3 separate regions of the Homo sapiens genome follow, and regions 2 and 3 are each linked to region 1. Evidence: promoter capture Hi-C in human tissues and cell types (Jung and others, 2019). All regions are on one chromosome and are shown on one strand. Each heading gives the region's core, a stretch centred on a gene start or on the middle of the fragment in contact. The rest is flanking DNA. Distances are from core to core; before and after follow the strand shown. Region 1 holds the start of ZNF618 (zinc finger protein 618). Region 2 has its middle 110 kb from the start of ZNF618. Region 3 has its middle 75 kb from the start of ZNF618.

What was found. Contacts are between HindIII fragments. The study calls those that stand out against the background at their distance.
Region 2: a contact is called between a fragment that was not itself captured here and the fragment with the promoter of ZNF618 in region 1, in 2 of the 25 tissues and cell types used here (aorta and spleen).
Region 3: a fragment that was not itself captured here is called in contact with the fragment with the promoter of ZNF618 in region 1 in 4 of the 25 tissues and cell types used here (adrenal gland, bladder, liver and 1 more).

Annotation. Positions count from the first base shown.
Region 1 is chr9:113,874,452-113,877,937 of GRCh38, reverse strand. It overlaps ZNF618 (zinc finger protein 618), which reads right to left and starts at 1,629. Exons shown (of 15, transcript NM_001318042.2): 1 at 1,525-1,629. The coding sequence starts at 1,557. RefSeq lists an enhancer at 3,205-3,486. The HindIII fragment of the contact is 30,531 bases long and covers 1-3,486 here.
Region 2 is chr9:113,764,636-113,768,121 of GRCh38, reverse strand. No RefSeq gene overlaps it. Among named protein-coding and RNA genes, the nearest start is that of ZNF618, 110 kb to the left of the region's middle. The HindIII fragment of the contact is 7,375 bases long and covers 1-3,486 here.
Region 3 is chr9:113,799,840-113,803,325 of GRCh38, reverse strand. No RefSeq gene overlaps it. Among named protein-coding and RNA genes, the nearest start is that of ZNF618, 75 kb to the left of the region's middle. The HindIII fragment of the contact is 4,669 bases long and covers 1-3,486 here.

The DNA of each region.
Region 1 (3,486 bases), core at 380-2,879:
TGCATGTCATAAAAAATGAGCTTCTGTGAATCCACTGTTAGTTTTTTCATAATAATGTTAATTATGCATATCTTATTTTAATGGCGGTCTCTCCTACAAATCTGTGGGCTACTCAATTTGTATAATGTATGAATTTACATTTTTTCCACTTAATATTGCTCAAAAAAGGTTCCTGACATTTTCTGGATAAAACAACAACAAAAAAGAAATGCCTAGACCTTTCAGGAAACAAAATCAGAAAACAGTCTTAATTATTCCATCAAAACAAAAAAAACACACACACACACAAAACCCAACAAATACAGAAAAAAAGAAAGAAAGGATTTCACTGTAACTTTTCTAGTTTCTGTTTTCTTTAGAATCTTAGGATTTAAATGCAGTAAAATGTAAATGCAAAATTAAAAAAAAAAAACTACAATTTTTGGGTGTGTCCAAAGCCAACATTTTAGGTTCTATTTTCTCTTTTAAATCCTTCGTTCGTGGAAATAGAAAAACTTTAAATATTGCCATATAGAGAAATTAGTCTTTTTTTGCCCGCTGAGCTAAACAAGTTCCAAATTACAATGAAGTACAATTTCTAATTGCTTCATAAAGCCAATTCTCTCAGTTTTCCCTAAACTCAACAATTTCCCTCCTTTCTTTATTCCAATTAGTTTTTTTCTCAAACTAAAATGAGTTGGGTACCCAAACTGACTTTGCTTTTAGGAGGTTTTTTGCTTTCTCCCCTCCAAGAACTAAATTCATTCAAATTCCAGCTTAATTTTCATTTACATATTATCTGGATTTGGCTTCAGAAATAAAAATTGTCTCCATGCTTCTGGAAAGATCAAAGTGAAAATTTTCACCCGAAAAAAGAAAAAAAAAGAATCTCTTACCCCTCCACTGCCTGGTAGTGCAAACTTTTGAAAAAATAAGAAATAAAAAATATTTCTTTTCAATTTTAATTTCTTTTTTATTTACAAAATAGTATCCTCTAGGTGGCGTCGTTTTAATGGGAAAAAACTACCGTTTGAAGAAAAATTAGAAAAAAAAAATTGAGAAAGGAAAATATGGCCTAAAAAAAAAGATTGTTGCAAAAATGGGGGACCTGGGGGGAAAGACCTCCCGGGGGGTCATCGGGGACCCCGAGCGCAGAGAGGGTCAGGGGAAAATTGCAAATTTGGGGGGGAGGGGGCAGAGCTGGAAGGGGTTGCATTTTTGCAAAATGTGAATTGTCCAAACTGAAATGGCTGCTCTGTTCTCTCGCCGCTTTGTTTTCTGGGCTCCGGTCCGAGCCCGGGGCCGGAGGGGGCGCTGGGTGGGGGCCCCAAAAGACCCCCTCGTCACCCCCACCCTCCTCGCACCCCGCAGCGCCCGGGGGGGTGCTCTCCGGACCCCGACCCTCCCGATTGCGCCCACAAAAAGCCCGCAAACGTGCCCAGGCACTTTGCATTTTGCAAATCTTGCAATGAAGTGGCGCAGCGCCCCGGGCCCCGGCCCCCCGGGGTCCCCCGCGCGGTGCATGCCCCCGGCCCCCCGTCGTACCTGCGGAGCCGCCGCGCCGCCCGGCTGGTTCATGGGTCCGTGCGGGAGGAGGCGGCCCCGGCGCGTCCTGCTCCTCCCGGGCCGGGCTGCTGGTGCGCGCACAATGCCGCCGCCGCCGCCGCCGCCGCCGCCGCCGCTCCCTCCTCCGCCCGCCCCGCTCAGGCCGGGGGGGCGGGGGCGCTGGGGGCGCGCGGGGGGGGCGCCGGCCCTCGCCCCCACCCCCGGCCCGCACCGGCCGCGCCGCGGCAGCCGCTGCCGCCGAGCCGCCCCTCGCGGGGCCGCCGCCGCCCCCCGCCGCCCTGCCCGCCCCCGGGCCGGCCTCGCCGTGCGGCCCGCGAGCTCGGGGCCTCGGCCTCGGCCTCCGCGCTGCCGGCCTCCGCGTGGCACACAAAGCCGGCCGGTCCAGGGGCGCGCCCGCCCTCCCGTCCGCCAGCCCCAGTGCCGCGGCACACCCGCCCCCCCAAACTTTCCCGCGCCGCGCCCTGCCCTCCCCGCGCCCCCCGCGCCCGCTCCCCGGCTCCCTTCTGCCCTCCCCCAGTCCCCCAGCCCCTCGGAAATGTCATTTTCACGCTGGAAAAAAAGTTCAGGGAGCCGGCTCTCGGCGGAACGCAAGAGGTTAATGGGAACTCTGTACCCCGCTGTACCCCCCCGCCAAAAAAAAACCAGATTGATTTTTGAAATAAAAGTTTTCAAGAGCTGGCTTGCTGGAAGACTGGAAGGCTTATTGGGAATATTCTATTGCCCTGCCACTCCTCCCAAAAAAACTAATGTAATAAAATAAAAGTTTGAAGGACTGGCCCCATGTCCGACAAGAGTGGTTAAGGGGACTCTAGCCCCCCAGCCAGACTGATTTTTAAAATAAATACTTGAGGAGCCGCTTTTATGTGAAATGCCAGTGAAGCGGCTGTTTCTGCCTATCCTTGCCAAATTAAAATATATATATGTATTTCTAAATAAAAGTTTGAAAAACTGGTCCTACAGTAAGACAAGAGGGGTTAAAGGTTAAGGGATATTAGCGCCCCCCACCCCCATATCCCCCAGTTAGGTTGATTTAGAGAAGGAAAATTTGAGAAACTTGCATGTGAAATAAAACGTGAACCAGGATATTTCTTTCCAACACCCCAAAATAGCCAGTTTTTTTGTTGTTGTTATTGTTGTTTTTTTTTTTTTAACTTGAGCAACTGCCTCCTTGTGACTTGGGAAAGTTTAAAAGGGATTTTTTTTTCTATTCTCTTCCCTATTCTCCTAAAAAATCCGATTTTTTAAAAATTGAAAGTATGAAGGACCTGCCCTATTATAGAGACAAGGAGGGATTACTGGATCCATCCTACATCTCCCACAACTGGTTGATTTTTGGAATAAAAATGTTAAGAATTGCTCTTCTATGAGATGCAAGGTGAACAGAAATCCTTCTTTGCCCCTCCCCAAAAGAAAACTGCAAGGGTACTTTTCAAAAATAAAAGCATTGGAAATTAAGAGTAACCAGGTATCTTCTCTCTGCCCCCACCTTCAAAAATCAAATGTTCTTTTTTGTAATGTTTAAAGAACTGGAGCAATATGAGACAGGAAAGGTTACAGAAATGTTTTCCCTACAATCCTCAAAAAAGTTATTTTTAAAATTTTAGGAAACGGAGGCACTGTGTAGAAGACACCTCCTTTCCCTAATAAGTTAAATTGGGAGTTTAGCCCTATATGGGAGACATGAAATTAAGAAACACAACTCTTGCCCCCCTTAACAAACACTCATAACACAAGACGTTAAAAGGAGTCTTCTGGCCGGGAGTGGTGGCTCACGCAAATAATCCTTTTGGGAGGCCAAGGCGGGTAGATCACGAGGTCAGGAATTGGAGACCAGCCTGGCCAACATAGTGAACCCCTTCTCCACTAAATATACAAAAATTAGCCAGGTGTGGTGGCACACACCAGCCAGTAGTCCCAGGTACTCAGGAGGCTGAGGCAGGA
Region 2 (3,486 bases), core at 599-3,098, 110 kb after region 1:
GCTATGGTCATGGACCAGGCCAGGAGGTCTGCAGAGAAAAGAAGCATCCTGGTTTCTCTATCCTTACATAGTCAATTTGAGCCAAAGATCTGACTTCCAGGCACCTTTCCTGGAAACCAGTTTCTAGGCCCCACAAACAAGGATAGTACAGGGCTGAGCATTTCTCCAATAAATTGAAACAGTGTGGGTGGTCAGGAAGAAAGCAAACAAACAAAAACCCCACATGCTATGTACTTATTTACCAAGTATTAAGTTACTACCTTATCCTTTAAGGTTTAAGTAAACTTCAGTTCAAACCACAGCCAAGATAGAATGTGTGGTAGGGTGTGTGTCTGTTCACCATGGTTGGTACCTCTTCTGGTGGCACTGAGCACATTCCACCCTGTTAAACTCAGGCATGGCCAGGTGTCTTTCTTTAACCAATTAAACACGATTAGAAGTGAGATTGCTGAAAGGAAACTTTAAAAGTCAATGTGTGGTTCATCACCTTCTTTTTCGCCTCTGCCTTATTGATCAGCAATGTCCCAGATAAGAGCTACTCCATCAGCCTGAATCCCAAAGTGCAGAGAGGTTGATGACAGCATAGTGAGAAATAAACATTTGTGGTTGTGGCTCACTTAGATTGGCAGTGGGGAGGTTCTTTATTACTGCAGCATAAAGTTTCCTATTCTGACTGATACTCAGAGTAAAACCCAGTGCCCCTCCCAATATCTCCAAAGGTTTTTAGATGCTTCCTCCTCTGGTTCTGTATTTCTGCCTCTTCCAACTAATCTTATCTTGAGTGGCAATCAGCTCCATTTTCTTGAAGTCCCCCAGATCACCCACACAGGTCATTTATGTAAATAGAAGACTATGACTTGTGGTTTAGGTGTGAAGGAGGGCATTTACACTACAACATCACAGTAACTTCACACTGAAAACTGACATCCCTGGTCACTTGAAGTCTTTTGGCCACTTCACCACTAGAAATTTTTCATGGGTCACTCTCCTCCAGTTTCCAGCCTGTATTAGTCCATTTTCATGCTGCTGATAAAGACATACCTGAGACTGGGTAATTTATAAAGAAAAAGAGGGTTAATGGACTCACAGTTCCACGTGGCTGGGGAGGCCTCACAATCATGGCAGAAGGTGAAAGGCACATCTTACATGGTGGCAGGCAAGAGAGAATGAGAATCAAGCAAAAGAGGAAACCCCTATAAAAACATTAGATCTCATGAGACTTATTCACCACCATGAGAATGGCATAGGGGAAACCACCACCATGATTCAATTATCTCCCATTAGGTCCCTCCCACAACATGTGGGAATTATGGAAGCTACAGTTCAAGATGAGGTTTGGGTGGGGACACAGCCAAACCATATTACAGCCTCTTGCCATGATGCCAGGTTTCCATCTTTCTTTTTCTTTTCTCTCTTTACTCTTTTTCCCCTTCTCTATTCTCTGCCAACTCAAAATTCTTGTTTGTTCCTTATGAAGAATTTTTAGCTTGTTTTGAGGTCTCCTTCCAGCTAATGTTCTTATGGACTCAATTTCCTCCTCTAAGAGGCTTTCCCAAGCAGTTTTCAAAATACAGTTCCTTCTCTGCTATTAAAATTATTTTTCCCAACACACACGTAAATAGAATGATCCTTGCTTTCAAGATACTCCAGGTCTAGAGGGAACACACTTTTTTTTTTTTTTTTAGCTTTTATTTTAGGTTCAGGGGTATACGTGCAGCTTTGTTGTATAGCTAAACTTGTGTCATCATGGGGGTTGTTGTACAGATTATTTAGTCACCTAGGTACTAAGCCTAGTACCCAATGGTTATTTTTTCTGATCCTCTCCCTCCTCCCACCCTTCACCCTTAAGTAGGTCCCAGTGTCTGTTATTCCTCAATTTGTGTCCATGGGAGCACACATTTTCTAGGACCCAGTGTACTTTATAAGAATATCTCCAAAGTAGTGAACCAGAAGCTTTTCGTCCATGAAGAAACTCTGTAAGTTATTTCTGATTCAGACTATCAAATGTGTGTCTTGACCCTGAGCACCTGGAATTTGTACTTCTCTCAGAATTTCAAAGACATCTAATACTCAGATAATTTTAAAGAATCCTGTCTCAAACATTTAAAGGAAGCCTTTAAGCTGAGTCTTCAGGGCAAATCCAGGGCCAGACAAGAGTACAGCCACAGATAGCGCTGTGAATATGAGAGAGAGGAGTTGCCTTCCCTATGGCTTCAGAATTTATCAATGAGTAGAAGAGAAAGGAAAAGGGTGGTGGGATTTCTGGTAGAGGAAAAGCCACAGATGAGAGGTCCCCAGACTAAGTGTGTCTTTGGGGAAGACAATAGACTCACTTAAGAACTAGAGTCATAAAAGAATGCAGATCTCCCAAACAAAACATAATTGAGCAGAGAGATGAGACCTGATCCCATAAATAACCGGCCATAATTAGAACATATCAACAGTTCCCATTAAAGAAACATCAGGCAGTCAAGTACTGGAAGTCTGGGAAAATTGAGTTCTTAATTAAATCCTCATCAGAATTACTAGTACCCATATCCTCCACATCCCATTTCCCCAAGTCTCAAGTGTAGGTGTATCAGGAAATGGCTTGGTTCTATGTAATCACACGAAATGAATTCTTCCCCTGCTCAATCTTCAGGACTGATAGAGCCACTGGGTCCTAGTTCTTAAAACACTAATCTTCAAAGAAACCTGGGAAAATCTCAGTTTTCCCAGACATGAGCCATGCAGGCAGTCTTCTTTTAAAGAAATGTTTATCTTCTCTTAATTACACTTCTGTGCTCAACATCTGCCTTGGTTCCCTAATGTCTACAGAATATAATCCAACCTCCTGAAACTGGAATTCCTCCTGGAATTGGAATTTCTCCAACTCTCTCTTCTCCATTCCCTAGACATGGTTTATTCTGTGCTGGGTCACTTTTTATGCTGATTCAGTCCCCTCAGCCTGGAATATCCTTTCTCTCGTTCTCTGATCACCAAAATCTCACTAGAATCCCACTATTTCACCAGAAATATTCTCATCAAGATCACCAGGCATATTCACTCATCAGCCCTTCTCAGCAGCATTCAATCTGTGGACCTGTTTCTTTTCTACAAAGACTCTGTCCCTAGATTCGGTGACTCCATACTATTCTCTTGGTTTTCTTCCTAATTCTCTGACCACCTCTCCTTAGTCTCCTTTCAATTCTTCCCCTCACTCCATCTAAAGAGCTGTGATTTTCCTGGGATCGTCTCTTCTCACTGCCTCAATGATCTCCTTCATGCCCCACCTCTAAGCCAATGACTCCCAATTCTGAATCTCCAGCTCTGATCCCTCTCAATGACTCCAGATCCACATAACAAAATGCCTAATGACATCATTAATTGGACATCCCATGGCATCTCAAACTCAAAACACTTAGAATCTTCTAGAGCTACTTCCTTGCCTCCCCACCCCTCCCACTACAATTGTCTGCCTCCTGTATGCCCTAGCTCAGTGAGCAT
Region 3 (3,486 bases), core at 347-2,846, 75 kb after region 1:
GATTAATGATGAATGTCTTTTCACGTACTTATCAGTCATTTGTATATCTTCCATGGAGAAATGCACATTTAAATCTTTTGATATTTGATTATAAATCCAATTTTTAATTATTTGTTTTTTGATTGAATTGTAATATTTCTTTATATATTCTGTATAAAAGTCTCTTATCAGATATATGATTTGTAAATATTTTCTCCCATTCTCTTTATTACTTTCTTGATAGTGCCCTTTTAAGTAAAAATTAGAAGTTTCAAAAAACTAAATGTTTTTAATGTTTGATGAAGTTCAATTTACCCACTTTTTGGTCACTTATGTTTTGGTGCCATATCTAAGAAACCCATTGCCTAGTCCAACCTCCGCCTTCTGGGTTCAAGTGATTCTCCTGCCTCAGCCTCCCGAGTAACTGGGACTACAGGTGTGCACCACCACACCCAGCTAATTTTTTTTTGTATTTTTAGTAGAGACAGGGTTTCACCGTGTTGGCCAGGATGGTCTCCATCTCCTGACCTCGTGATCCCCCTGCCTTGGCCTCCCAAATTGCTGGGACTACAAGCATGAGCCACTGCACCCAGCCCCTTTTAAGAGTTTTATAGTTTTCGCTAGAAGATCTACGATCCTTTTTCAGTTAATTTTTAACTAATTTGTGAGGTAAGGGTCCAACTTCCTTCTTTCACATGTGGATGGCCAATTGTTGCAGTGCCATATATTCAAAAAACTATTCTCTCCCTATTTAATTGTCTCAGCATCCTTGTTGAAAATCAGTTGACCATAGATATATGGGTTTAGTTCTGTACTCTCAAGTCAGTGCCATTGACCCTATGTCTATCCTAGGCCAGTATCACACTGTCTTGATCACTGTAGTTTTGAGAAAGTTTTGAAATCAGAAAGTGTGAGTTCTCCAATTTTGTTTTTCAAGATTGTTTTGGCTATTCTTGGTCCCTTGTACTTCCATGTGAATTTTAGGATCAGCTTATCCATTTCTGAAGAAAATAATTTGGAATTTTGCATGGATGGCACTGAATATGTAGAGCAGGACAAAAAGCAATCATAGAGCAATCTGATGAGTCCTGCCTTCTTAACAATGTGAAATCTTCCATGAACACAGGTTGTCTTTATATTTATTTAGGTCTTTAATTTGTTTCAACAATGTTTTGTAGCTTTTGTGTGCAAGTGTTGCACTTCTTTTGTTAAATTTATTTCTAAGTATTTTATTCCTTTTGAAGCTATTATACATTGAATTGTTTTTCTTAATTTGTTCTCAGATTGTTTATTGCTAGTGTATGGAAATACAATAGACTTTGATATATTACTCTTTTATTCTGCAATATGGTTTTCGATCCTGTTGTAAAGATAGGAAGACAGAGGATCACACAGCGTGCGTGATTAGCTTGGGATGACCTGGCTTTTTGTCCTGCCAATCTCCCTTTCTTTGCAGAACCACTCTTCTCAGCTGCAAGGGAATCCTGCTCAGTCTATGTAGTGAGCTTATTCCGCCTTCTCTCCCTCACCCCAGGGATGAGGTACCACCATCTTTTCCCACCACTGGTGAAATCCTGCTATAGAAAGAAGTCGGCTGGGCGCAGCGGCTCATGCCTGTAATCCCAGCACTTTGGGAGGCCAAGGTGGGCAGGTCACCTGAGGTCAGGAGTTTGATACCAGCCTGGCCAACGTGGTGAAACCCCATCTCTACTAAAAATACGAAAAATTAGCTGGGTGTGTTGGTGGGCGCCTGTAATCCCAGCTACATGGGAGGCTGAGGCAGAAGAATCACTTGAACATGGGAGGTGGAGGTTGCAGTGAGCCAAGATGGCACCACTGCACTCCAGCCTGGGCAACAGAGTGAGAATCCATCTCAAAAAAAAAAAAAAAAAAAGAATGAAGTAAACATAGAAAAAAATCACAATAAGAGCTGAAGCAAGAAAGAGGGGTCTGTCACCATCATTGAGCACCTGGATCCAGCCCTACCTAAAGCTAGTAACTCTAGAGTTTCCGGATACATTAGCTAATATTTCTCTTTAGCTTAAGGTTATTAGAACTGGGTTTCTGTCCCATGAAACCCAAAGAATCCTGATGTATACAGCTAGTAAAGGGCAGAGTGTGAGTTTTAAATCAGGCCTATGTGATTCCAAAGTTGTCCTCACTCCACGGTCCCTGCATGACCCCTTTCTTGTACTCGCACTGGCTGGGTGGATGTTTGAGAGGCTTCAGGGGATAAGTGAAGCTTGCAGCAGGTAAGCAATAGGGAGACTGGGTCTAAGACCCCAAAGATCTGCAGATGTAAGGAAAGATCAGGAAACCGGGTACAAGGCCAACTGAGGTCAAAGGCGGACCCCCAACTCTTACTGCCTGTGGGTCTTGGCCAGTCTCAGTCTCTCTGAGACCTTGTTTCCTGGGTTGGGACACCTTTTTCTGGCTGTGTTTTGGGCCCATTCCAGGCACACAGGCCCTAAAATAATCATGACAGCTCCTGAAATGTACTTGCCCAGTCATCTGTGTAATTCCCAGGAGATCTCTGAGAGCCCAGCAGGGCAGGGATGATCCTGGTCATTGTATAGCTGGGGAAACTGAGGCAAGGCAGTGTTCAGTGACTTATTTAAAGATCCCTAGCTCCTGAAAGACTGCGTGGAACCCAGGTCTCGTGTCTTTGTGTCTAATATTCTCATAGTAAACCAGGGGAGGCAGCAGCGCCTCTTTGGGATTTGCCTGGGGCCTGAGACTTCCCATAATCCAATTAATAAATTGTCCAAGATGGAGGGCCAGCTACCAATTAGTTCTCTTTCCTCCCTGGTGCCTCTTTGAGCTTTGTGGATAGCAACTCCCTGGAAAGGGAAGAGAGGCCCCCACTCTACACTCCCTCCTTGGGAATCAGGGGTCTAGAAATTAGCTGATTCTTGATAAGCCCTAATTATAAATTAGGTCTTATTATCTGTGGCTCCTGAAACTACGCTGGATGAATTAAAACTCTAGGAAAAGGAATATTTCAATTAACCATATGAACTCAGGTAATTGCCTGCCAAGGAAAAGCCCCTTACAGAACAAGTCCTGGGGCAGTTACGAGGACATCAGAAGGGGAAGGCAGGGGCCAAAGCGTGGGTGGTCTGCGTGAGACGGAAGTGAGGAGTGGGCCCCTCCACAGCTGCTGTTTTCTGAGGATAGGGTCTTAGAAGTGGCAGGACTTGGAAATGCATAGTTGCCAGTGGCTCTGTCTGGGGATTGGAGGACCAGAATTGGGGTCCTCTCTCTATTACCTACTGCTCCAGAGACTCTGTGTTTCCTAAACCTTGCAATGGACAGGTCAGATGAGATGATGAAAAAAGGGCCTTATCAGCTGGAAAGTGTGGCAAGCACACCAGATAATTATGGTTCAGTGCAATTAGATGCTTTTTTTTTTGTCTGAGACAGAGTCTTGCTCTGTAGCCCAGGCTAGAGAGCAGTGGCACGATCTCGGCTTGCTGCAGGCTCTGCCTCCCAGGCTCAAGAGATTCT